Linked DNA regions of Homo sapiens: regions 2 and 3 are each linked to region 1. The links are contacts of gene promoters, found by promoter capture Hi-C in human tissues and cell types (Jung and others, 2019). All regions are on one chromosome and are shown on one strand. The core of a region is centred on a gene start or on the middle of the fragment in contact, and the rest is flanking DNA. Distances in the headings are between cores, read along the strand shown. Region 1 holds the start of EI24 (EI24 autophagy associated transmembrane protein). Region 2 holds the start of HEPACAM (hepatic and glial cell adhesion molecule). Region 3 overlaps FAM118B (family with sequence similarity 118 member B).

The links. Contacts are between HindIII fragments. The study calls those that stand out against the background at their distance.
Region 2: a contact is called between the fragment with the promoter of HEPACAM here and the fragment with the promoter of EI24 in region 1, in 2 of the 25 tissues and cell types used here (aorta and dorsolateral prefrontal cortex).
Region 3: a contact is called between a fragment that was not itself captured here and the fragment with the promoter of EI24 in region 1, in 1 of the 25 tissues and cell types used here (liver).

Annotation. Positions count from the first base shown.
Region 1 is chr11:125,567,724-125,571,761 of GRCh38, reverse strand. It overlaps EI24 (EI24 autophagy associated transmembrane protein), which reads right to left and starts at 2,285. Exons shown (of 11, transcript NM_004879.5): 1 at 2,189-2,285. STT3A-AS1 (STT3A antisense RNA 1) reads left to right here. Exons shown (of 4, transcript NR_132372.1): 3 at 1,320-1,472; 4 at 3,644-3,654. RefSeq lists enhancers at 1,568-1,617, 2,120-2,621 and a silencer at 2,058-2,617. The HindIII fragment of the contact is 7,956 bases long and covers 1-4,038 here.
Region 2 is chr11:124,933,787-124,937,740 of GRCh38, reverse strand. It overlaps HEPACAM (hepatic and glial cell adhesion molecule), which reads left to right and starts at 1,694. Exons shown (of 7, transcript NM_152722.5): 1 at 1,694-1,819. The coding sequence starts at 1,735. All of the region lies in intron 1 of LOC107984406 (a long non-coding RNA gene), which reads right to left. The HindIII fragment of the contact is 7,366 bases long and covers 1-2,689 here.
Region 3 is chr11:126,252,135-126,256,094 of GRCh38, reverse strand. FAM118B (family with sequence similarity 118 member B) reads right to left here. Exons shown (of 9, transcript NM_024556.4): 6 at 1,662-1,790. It also overlaps a transcript of SRPRA not described here. Among named protein-coding and RNA genes, the nearest start is that of SRPRA, 15 kb to the left of the region's middle. The HindIII fragment of the contact is 4,042 bases long and covers 132-3,960 here.

The sequences.
Region 1 (4,038 bases), core at 1,036-3,535:
AGATTACAGGAACCCGCCACCACGCCCAGCTAATTTTGTGTATTTTTAGTAGAGATGGGGTTTCGCCATGTTGGCCAGGCTGATCTCAAACTCCTGATCTCAGGTGATCCATCCATCTCAGCCTCCCAAAGTGCTAGGATTACAGGCATGAGCCACCACGCCCGGCTGGTCTTTTCTGTTTTCTAACTTTAAATATATACAGATACAATTTTAATAAACATGCAATAAATAGTGGATTTTAAACTAGGCCTCAAAAAAGTTCATATGTATAAACAGTCTTTAAAACAGTAAGGCTTTCCCATTTTATTTCTCAGGTGAATGGGATATCTAGTTTCAAAAATTAAGAACTTGAGAGTTCATGTGAGAAATACTTGTAATTAATATACTATTCTCTCATTTAATCTGTGGTGACTTCTAAGATGAATAGAAAACCCACTTTCAGGCATTTTTTAAGAACCTGATATTCTAAAGTTCTCAACACTCACTCAATCAAGTTGCAGTATTCTCAGTTTAAGAGGTATGACCATAATACAAAGACAGAATTTCACAAGCAGCTTGTACAAACCTTAAATTTCAAAATATAAGCACACTTTCCCCGACCTTTAACCACTTCACCAAACTGCTCCTCATTGACCCAACTGGACTAATGCCATTCAGAACTGGAAGAGCAGGGGATATGGCAGTAGGAAGGCAATTTGCCCAACATTGTATATACCCTCTGCTCCTTAGGTCAAATCCTACACAGATAGGCTCACTTCGGATAGAAGTCTCTAGGGTAAGAAACTTCTGTTAATACTCCCACTGTTTCCTCCTGAAAACAAACACCTCAGAGTTCCAGTCGCGTAGGTACAGCCATACAGACATGTTCTCAGGGTTGAGGTGAGGGCAGCTGAGCTAGATAACTAGCAAAGGCTCAGTGATATGCACGACACTAGTTTGTAAAGACTCACAGATCCACTCCCGTAACCTGCCACTGGCTCATCTATAAATTAAGGGTACTAAACTTCTTCATAGGTTTCTTGCATCTAATAGGGCACAACAGCATGAAAAAAACTTAAAATTCTATATAAACACAACCCCACCAAAGTGAGCCAGCTTGGAGGTTTAAGGAAGCCCATTACTTGGCCTGGATTTCTCACAGGGAACTGACAGGGAACCTGAAACATTCTGTCTCAGTCCACAACAGCTGTGTCATTTGATCCCTGGCCAGCTAACACCTGGTTTCTGCATGTACCAAGTGGCAGGACACCTCCTAAGAGTGACCTATGAAGGATAAATCACTTCACTTTTATACTTAGATCCTAACATCCTTCCTACAGGAATATTTGGTGAATTACCCAGTCTGACAAATAGCTGAGGCATGGGGAAAAATAACCTGCCACAATTTGAGAACACACACACAGACTGAATGACACAGGGGGAATCCTACAGCTGAGCTAGACAGATGAAGATGCATCTGGCTCATTTAACAGGTGAGAGAACCCAGTCTCAGAAGTTAAATGACTTGCCCAGACTGACAGCAAATGAATGGCAGCTACAGTGAACCTCAGAACCCGGTGTTCTAACGTTACCTCGGTCGAGACTTGTTTTTACTTAAGCTTTGCAATGAAGATTTTTGTTTTAACACGAGCATCCCATGGACAAATAACCTCTCAAACCTGGAAATACAAATGCCATTAAATTCCCAACAGTCATTAGAAGCTAATAAGCATCTGCTGAGACACACTTTTATTTCTAAGTCACTAAACCCAAGTCTCGGCAAACAGGAAGCTGTCGTAGCCCACTCCAGGTACAGGGAAGGTAAACATCCTCACTTCCCACGGGGCTCCACGGGCTGCCTCTGAGTCCACGGGTCCATTCAGGCCCATCTCCCCACAGCTCCTAGGCAATTCGGCAGAAAACTGGTCTCCCTAGGCACAACTGTGCACGAGGTACGGATCACGCGAGGTGCGGATCACGCACGCTCCGGGTCACACAGGGAGCTAAAGATAGCTGCGCCGCACCTGGGGCAGCCTCGCCCGGGGATGTGCCCGGCCCCGTCCCGCTCCCTCCGGCCCCTTCCCATAAGGGGTCCTCGCCGGTAGCCCCACCAACCCACGCTCGGGCCCTGCCTGCCCTCCCGGTCCCTGCCACTCAGAATGGGCGGCGCGGCGGCCCCGAGGCCTAGCTCGGCTGAGCCCGCACCTACCCACAGCTCCGCCGCCGCGGCTCCGGCCCTGCCCCTAGCCCACCGCAGGCCAGCTCCGCCGGGGCGCTTCCAGGGCCGGGGCCGCTGCGCCCGCACTGGGCATGCCCGGGCCGCACGGGGCCGCTGGGAAGTCGGGCGAGCGCGAAGAACCAGCCGGCACCACGAGGCGGGGCCCAGAGCCGAAGGGGTGGGCCGCGCGGAGCGACGGAGACTGGGAAATGTAGTCAGTCCGGGGTCCCGCCTCGCGCTGCGTGCGGGATCGTCCGGCTCCCAACTCCGCCTGGCGGCGGAGAGGACCCCTCACCCCTCCGCGTCGCCTCCTCCCCGTCGCCTCCTCGCCGATCCCGTTCTCACAGATCTCTCCTCCTGTTCTTTGCCCTCCCCCATTGACTCCACAACGCTGCTTGCGTTTCTAAAATCCTGTGAAATTAGTAACAGGATGCCTTTAATCCCAGCATTTTGGGAGGCCAAGGCAGGCAGATCACGAGGTCAGGAGTTCAAGACCAGCCTGGCCAACATAGCGAAACCCCATCTCTACTAAAATAACAAAAATTAGCCAGGTGTGGTGGTACCTGCCTGTGGTCCCAGCTACTCAGGAGGCTGAGGCAGGAGAATTACTTGAACTCAGGGGATGAAGGTTGCAGTGAGCCGAGATCACACCACTGCACTCCTGCCTGGGCGACTGAGCAAGACTCAGTCTCAAAATAATAATAATAATAATAAATTTAAAAAATGAAATAAAATAAGTGGCTGGGCACGGTGGCTCATGCGTGTAACCTCAGCACTTTGGGAAGCTGAGGCGGGCAGATCACTTGAGGCCACCCTGGCCAAGATGGTGAAATCCCGTCTCTACTAAAAATACAAAAAATTAGCTGGGCATGGTGGCACACACCTGTGGTCCCAGCTACTTGGTCGGCTAAGGAATGAGAATCACTTCAATTCAGGAGGCAGAGGTTGCGGTGAGCCGAGATCGCACTACTGCACTTCAGCCTGGGTGACACAGCTAGACTGTCTCGAAAAATAAAATAAAATAAAACAAAACAAAACAATATAAAATAGAATAGAATAAGGAATCCATCTACTAAAGCTTAGAAATCTTGTTACAAAGAGACCTAAGTGGTTTAATGACAAACTGATTATTGTGCTATTAATTATAATAATAGCTCTTCCTCCAAGCTCTATTCTTTCTCAAGAGTGTCAATTTAGAAAAGATTTTAGAAAGAATTTAGTAGGTATGAGTTTATTCTGGCTTACTTCATGGGAGGAAATCTTTTTTTTTTTTTTTTTTTGAGACTGAGTCTGTCTTTGTCTCCCAGGCTGGAGTGCAGTGGTGCGATCTCGGCTCACTGCAAGCTCCGCCCCCTGGGTTCACGCCATTCTCCTGCCTCAGCCTCCTGAGTAGCTGGGACTACAGGCACCTGCCACCAAGCATGGCTAATTTTTTTGTATTTTTAGTAGAGACGGGGTTTCACCGTGTTAGCCAGGATGGTCTCGATCTCCTGACCTCGTGGTCCGCCCACCTACAGCCTCCCAAAGTGCTGGGATTACAGGCGTGAGCCACTGCGCCTGGCCGGGAGGAAATCTTTTAAATCTCAACATGTATAACCACATTTAAAATAAAAACCAATAATAATTAATACCTTGCATTTTTAAAGAGCTCTCACATGCTTATGTATGATTAGATGCTATTTGTGGACAAGTAGAGGATATTATTTTCCAAATTTCACAAATGAGGAAGTTTGTGGCAGAGCACTTTGAGAAGACATGACCTCCAGTTAAGCTGTGAACCTTAGTTTCTTTTTTTTTTTTTTTTTTTTTTTGAGACAGTGTCTCTCTATCTTGGCTCACTG
Region 2 (3,954 bases), core at 445-2,944, 630 kb after region 1:
CTTCGGGCTTTCTATTTCCCAAACACTGCATCCTCCTTTTACTCCCATCCATAAGCCTCAAGGCCCAGCCATCACAGGCAAAGAGGCCATTTATCTACACTCCAGAAGGACTCTGTGATCCAGTCCACAGGCTGATCTATGATATGTCAAGGGGTAGATAAAAGAAATTAGAATGCTCTTTTGTCCCTTACAAAGACTGGCTAAGCCTTTCATCTTGCTATGGACTTTGAAATGCTATTTTAAATGTCAGAAGCTGAATATTGACTCTTTTTGTGTACCTGCTATAATAACATTACCTCTTCCAGTGGAAGAAAGGTGCCTTGAGTTGTCTAGGGAAAAGTCATAAACACAGAAATGCAAAAGGAAAAAAGAATCCCCTTTATATATTTCAGAATGTTTTCAGAGAGGTCTGTGAAGTTCAGTGCTTCCCAACTCTTCTCCCTCTGCCGAGGCTCAGAAGGGCTATGTAATAATGCTTCAGTTCTAGAAAGTTGACCTACTCAGGCTTTCTCCAGTATGTAAAAAGAATATTTAGAGAGATAATTGCTGCACTTACAAAACCAAGACCAGGGGTTAGGGATGACCAAGAAGGAAGTTGTGAAGTTTGGTCTCCCAAAAATATAAAGATCCCAGCATGAATGAAAAAAGAAACAAGGCAATTTTTAAAAAGTTTAAAACATCATCTCTGTAACAAAGGATTTGCTAGGTACTCTTCTGTACCAAATCTCCATCAACGCTCCCAACAATTCCCCTCAAGGAAGCTCTTCTTTTCCCCATTTTACAGATGAGAAATTGAAGGCTCAAAGAGGTTGCGAGCCCATCCCAAGATCACAGTTACTAGGCATCCATTCCCTTGGCCGCCCTCATGAAAAGGTGTGAACACATGAATGGGGGTCAGAGTAGAGCTAGAGTGTTTCTCCTCTTCACAGCCTCAAAACAGGAGGGCACAGCTAGGCTGTTAAGCTGGTAACAGAACCCTAGGATGCTGGCTGTTAGGAGATGACCTTCATTTTGCTCAGACATGTTCTAGAAAATTGCCTGAAAGCAGGGGAATGAACAGAGTGGCTTCTGGAAAGAGGTGTCCAGCATCTATGTGATTCTATGATAGAAGAGAAAATTCCAAGCCACGGAAAGACAAGTGTAACAATAATAGAATTCAAGCTGTTTTCCAGTCTTCTTCCTTTGGGATGGAACAGGGGTTTTCCATTTCTTCAGCAGTTGTCTGGAGTCTTTCACTTCCCAGCTTTTTAAAATCTCTTCTCCCTCCCTTTTCAGAGCTTATTGGAGGTCTGTCCTGGCATGTACCCTCCTCCTCAGGGAGAAGGAGTGTTAGGTGGAGACAGGGTAGGTTGGGACACAAAGTCCAGTTAAGTGTGTGTCCCAGCTCAGTGCTCTGAGCCCAGATCCTCATCTCCCTGGGTAGTGAGGCTCAGCACAGACAAGCAACCAACTGCTGGGCTGCCGGTGCCCCCCATGTTGGAACCTGAGTTGGAGATTATCTCCTAAGCAGATACCTGCTTCCAAACTGGGGATGTAGGGCTTGGAAACTAGAAAATGCCAGGTCTGAGGGAGAGGAAAGAACAAGTCCAGCAATACACAGAGCTCTGTGTATTCAGAGGGAAGTTGGCAGGGTTGTGTTCGGGCAGAGAAACTCCGAGTGGTACAAAGGGGACGTGCCCAGAGTGGAGAAATCATGCTAATTGTCTGCACTAGAGCTGGAGAACGCCACCCAAAATGAAGAGAGAAAGGGGAGCCCTGTCCAGAGCCTCCAGGGCCCTGCGCCTTGCTCCTTTTGTCTACCTTCTTCTGATCCAGACAGGTAGGAGGCCAGAGGGTAAGAAAGGGTCTGAAGAAAGGACCCGGGGCTTTTACAGCAGACGGAGGGGAGAGTGGAGGGCCTGAATGCCTTTGGGGCAGGAGTGGGGGAGAGTTCAGCTGCCGTGGGAAACATGTCAGGGAATTCAGGCATTAGCGTTGAACGTATTTCTTTATTTTGTGTGCCTCCCGCGCGGCCCCTACCCCCTTCCCCCAAAAGGCTGCATGACTTTGGAGCTCCCACGGCATTCAGTACATTAGATGGCGGGCACTGGGCCATTTCGTATGGGATGACTTGTTGGCGTGGGCCAGTCTGGCATTCTTTCCAAGGGATTGTGGTGGGGCTTGATGGGTAGGGGTAGGGGAAATTTTCTTTTTATACCTCCCCAGCCCCCGACTCTGGCTTCTCTGTGTGTAAAAGAGTAAGGCAGATGAAAGAAGCTTTGGAGATAATGAGCCTCCTAATGTGGGATAGTCATACCCACCTATCCATAATTCACTCCACTCCATAGCTGCTTACCTCCTCTACCGCCCCCTACCAATCCTTTGAGAAGTGATCTTATTTAAATATACCTATTTATGAGTACATACACATATACACACACACACACACACACAATTACAGAGCACCTAGGAATTCACAACTTAGTGAGGCAAACAGATGTGGAGATCATTTTACTAAACTGCAGGAACTATCATAAGTCAATTATGCAGAGAATGCATAGCAATCAGAGAAAGGTCACCTACCCCATCCAGGAAGCTGGTGCTGGTGGAGGGGGTGTTGGTAGGGTAGGACACAGGGTGTGGGAATATCAGGGGGAGGTTTTCTGGTAGAAGGAATGTGTGCACTGAATTTTAAAAGATGGGGAAAAAAGGTAGGAGTATAAGTGGGTGTTAGGGTTGGGAAATGAGCAAAGGTCAACAGCTTGAAATAACATCAAGTGTTTAGTCAGAGCCCAGCAGTTCATCACTGCTGGAGAGAAAAGCATGAATTGAGTGAGGCAAGAGCTTTGTAAACCAGACTCGTAATCTGGGGATTGAGAGGTGAGGGAATGAGCGGTTTTTAATTTGGGGACTGTCAGGGTTACATGTACCTTTCAGATAGCTTACTCAGTCTGCAGGGGGTCATTCGAGGGGAAACTGGAGGCAAATAAAATAAGAAAGGAAGTTTGTATTCATTTTCTAGGGCTCCTATAACAAAATACCACAAACTGAGTGGCTTAAACAACAGAAATGCATTATCTCAAAGTCGTGGAAGCCAGAAGTGGGAGATCGAGGTGTCAGCAGGGCCATGCTCTCTCTGAAGCTTCTAGGGAGGGCTCTGCCTTAGGGTTCTCTCCTAGCTTCTGGTAATTCCTTGACTTGTGGCAGCATCACTCCAGTCTTGGTATGGCATTCCCCGTGTTTGCATGTCTATGTCCACATTTCCCCTTTTTATAAGGACACATACTAGATTAGGTCCATCCTACTCCAGTATGATCCCTTCTTATTAGATCTGCAGTGACCCCATTGCCAAATAAGTTCACATTCTGAGGTACTTGGGGGTTAGGACTCCAACGTATGAATTTGAGGGGAACACAGGTCAAAAAGCTATTGCAATAGATCAAGAGAGAAATAGGAGAAATAACATGGACTGAAATTATAATAAAGATAGAAGGAATGAGGCATGTTGAGAAAATATTTTAGAGGTAAAGTCAGGAGCTAGTGACCTGTAGGAAGTAGGAGGATTTAGGAAGGGAAGGAGGATTGCTGTGTGAAACCTTAAACAAAAAAAATGAGTATCATACATGTTTAGATTGAAATACTTATGAGGCTTCCGTGTGAAGATGTCACATAGCCTGGAGTTGGGTGGCAGAGAGGTCAGGGTTGGAGAGAGGTATTTGGCAGCCGTTAGCCCATAGGTGAGAGTTAAAACAATAAGAATAGATAATATTACTTAGGAAGGGAAAAACGTGGGATGAAAATGAAACATCATGTAACCTCAAGATTTGTAGAGGAAGCAGAGGAAGAAATGCCCATTAAGGAGACAAAGAGAGAACAGCCAGAGAGACAGAAGGACTAGAAGCCTGTGGTGCTGTCCAGAAAATCAAGGGAGTTGAGAGTTTTCAGGAGTAGATCAATACCATTGAAGTTGTCAAA
Region 3 (3,960 bases), core at 903-3,402, 680 kb before region 1:
TTTGCCATGTTGGCCAGGCTGGTCTGGTACTCCCGACCTCGAGTGATCCACCCACCTTGGCCTCCCAAAGTGCTGGGATTACAGGCGTGAGCCACTGCACTTGGCCAGTAGTTTACTTTTTTATTTTTATTTTATTTTTGAGACAGAGTCTTGCTCTGCCACCTAGGCTGGAGTGCAGTGGCATGGTCTTGGCTCACTGCAACCTCCTCTGCCTCCCAGGTTCAAGCGATTCTCCTGCCTCAGACTCCCAAGTAGCTGGCATTACAGGCACCTGCCAGCACGCCCAGCTAATTTTCCTATTTTTAGTAGAGACAGGGTTTCACCATGTTGGCCAGGCTGGTCTGGAACTCCTGACCTCATGTGATCTGCCTGCCTCAGCCTCCCAAAGTGTTGGGATTACAGGCGTACTTTTTTAGATTTATGTGCCCAGAGGTCATTGTGCAAAGAGTAGGTCTTCATATATCTTAATCCTTCCATTTCTGGACCATATTTGCCTTTGTCTCACAAACTGAACTGTGAATCACCAGAGAAGATAATTCCATCATCGGATTTGCTCAAGGAAAGGCGTTTGATACTTAGAACATCAGTATGTGTGTGTGTGTGTATACATATACACACACAAAAACACAGAAATGACTGCCTAAGGGATCACTCAATGTCAGAGATGGATGCAGTTATGGCAGATGTTGGGAAAGAATGGGTAAAAAGAAAAAAAAGTCCCTTGTGCTTTAGACAATACATTTTCTCGGTCTTTTGCCTCATTATTAAAAGATGCTATAATCTATATGACCCAGTCCTGAAAACAGCAAACAAGATTCTTAGAGCTGGGGGCAGCGAATACTTCTGGTTTGAACATGTTTATCTGAACAAGTCGAAAATGTGCATCCCAAAAGATCAATAAGCTTTTCACAAAGAGTAAGTGTGAATAAATGTGGTTAATTCAATATAAGCCCATTGCCATTTATACAAAGTCTCTTTAGAATGTATTCTCTAGTAGTGGTTGGTTTGTTAAGAAGCTGCCTCAATTATTTCTGACACAGAGAGGGCTATTAATAAACCAAATGATGATAAAGGGTACTAATGTATCCTTTGTATGTGAAGATGATGCCAATGATGACATGCCATCTGCTGGTTGTCAATTAAGTACAAACAAAGATCATAGGGTTTGACACCTTAAGAGAAATTCTACATTTCCTAGACAGCATGCACACCCATAAGTTAAGAAGCACAGGAAGAACGTCTGACTTTCCAGTTTCTTTCTTTTTTTAGAGATAGGGCCTTGCTCTGTCACCCAAGCTGGAGTGCAGTGGCTCTAGACACAGCTCACTACAGCCTTATATTCCTAGTCTCAACTAATCTTCCTGCCTCAGCCTCCCAAGTAGCTGGGACAGCATGCACCATGATGCCTAGCTAATTTTATTTTTGTAAAGACAAGAGTCTCGCTATGTTGCCCAGGCTGGTCTCGAACTCCTGGCCTCAGGTGATCCTCTCCCCTTGGCCTCCCAAAGTGTTGGGATTATAGGCATGAGCCACTGCTCCTAGCCCCTGACCTTCCGTTTTCACTTAATGAAAAGAAGATGTTCCCCTTTAAGATCTATGGCATATTTAGAGAGATTTCCCAGGAAGGAGTTCCTGAGACCAGCAAGATCAGCCCCACTCACCATGACTTCAGTGTTCCTGAGCACGTTCTGATATCCAGCCGGATGAAGGACAATGCCACTAGGGTTGGTGTAGACTCCGTGAATATGCAACACGCTCAGCTTACGCTTCTCCTGAGCCCACTCGAGGACCTGCACAACACACATATAGCCCAACCAGCTTGGCAGGGCTGAGCACCTGTTTAAAGGTCACAATGGGCAAGAGGCTGTTTTGAGGACTAGACTTCTGACATAAACTCTCTAGCTTCATGATATAGGACAAGAATGCAAAACCTGATGTGGTCTAAGTTTCCACTTCAGGAATGACTGTCAAGAATGATGGCAACAAATTTGGTGATTTCTCTTTGAAAGTAAGCATCAAAAATCACAATTTGTCATAATTTGCAGAAACAACAGGGACCCTTTGCACTGGTGGCATGCATGAGAGCTATGGACAACTGCTTCAGTGATCGCCCCAAGAAATCAAGCCTCTGTATCCAGGCCCTTGTGTGGCCCCTCTTCGGAGTGACTCCAGGCTAACCACATGGCTTGCTTTTAGCCAATGGGATACTAGCAAACACACACAAGCAGAAGCTTGAAAAGTGTTGGCACAAGAAGTCTTACTTCTCTTGTGTTACTTTTGGAATCCAGCTGCCATGCGAAGAAAGTGAAGAAGCCTGGGCTAGCCTGCTGGGACATATATGGCCTGGCCAATTGCTTGCAGGGAAGTATGGTCCCCTTATATCACTCAGCCCTGGTGCGGCCATCAGATGTCTGCAGGTATGTGAAGAGGGTGCAAAAATCAGCAGAAAAAATGCCTGGCTGAGTCACTGAGCCCAGTTCAAATTGTTAATATACTTTATCATGGGCAGATAAGATATTTGTTGTTACAAGCCACAAAGTTTCACGGCCATTACTTGTACAGCAATAGATAAGTGATAGAAAAATCACTTCAGTCACCTCTGAGGAACCTAAAAGGCTGCCAGCGAAGAACAATCATTTAGACAACAGCGAATGCAATAGCCACCTGATTCCATGGCTCCATTTTCCCAAGGACTGGAGACAGCATACATTTATTCTTATCACATTTTGGAGAAATAGGCTATGAATCAGGAAAGTAGTCAAGAGGCACCGAGATTTAGAATTTGAATGTTACTAGGCCCCATTCTGACTACCAGTCAATGTCTTTAACCATTAGACTGCAACACTGCCCCTAATGTGGGCTGAAAATACAATGCAAATCTTGAGGCCCAAGGATGAAATGAGAAGGAAAACATCAAATGTGATAGATATCCTCAGCTTTTAAAAGGTCCTTATGCTTCTGATATCCATGAACACACTTGGTCATAATCTTTGGAAATTTTATCACAAATAGCATAGAAGCTGCTAGTTTTAAAATTTCAATCATTTGTTTGTTTGTTTTTAGACAGAGTCTTGGTCTGTTGCCCAGATTGGAGCACAGTGGCGCAATCTTGGCTCACTGAAACCTCTGCCTCCTGGGTTCAAATGATTCTCCTGCCTCAGCCTCCCAAGTAACTGGGATTACAGGCGTGCACCACCACTCCCAGCTAGTTTTTGTATTCTTAGTAAAGACGGGGTTTCACCATGTTGGACAGGCTGGTCTCAAAATCCTGACCTCAAGTGATCCACCCACCTCGGCCACCCAAAATGCTGGGATTACAGACGTGAACCACTGTGCCCAGCCTATTTATTTAGAGACATGATCTTATGCTGTCACCCAGGCTGGAGTGCAACAGTGTGATCACAACTCACTGTAGCCTCGACTGCCTCAGCTCAATCGATCGTCCTGCTTCAGCCTCCCAAGTAGCTGGGACCACAGGCAAACACCACCATGCCCGGCTAATTTTTAAACTTTTTGTAGAGATGGGGTCTTGCTATGATGCCCAGGTTGGTCTTGAACTAGGCTCAAGTGATCCTCCCGCCTCAGCTTCCCAAAGTGCTGGGGTTACAGGCCTGAGCTGCTGTGCCCAGCCCAATCATTTATTAATCAAAAAAATATTTACCAAGCACCTAACTGTCATATTTGAGACATGAGGGTTGTATTTGAGTTATGAGGGTAAGAAAGACTAACATGATACCTATCCAAGTGAAGTTACTATTCCTATGGGGTAAACAGTCAGAAAACAGATAAACAGCCAAGATAAAAACTGTGCTGGGTGTGGTGGCTCATGCCTGTAATCCCAGCACTTTGGGAGGCTAAGGTGGGCAGATCACCTGAGGTCAGGAGTTCGAGACCAGCCTGGCCAACATGGTGAAACCCTGTCTCTACTGAAAATACAAAAATTAGCCAGACGTGATGGCG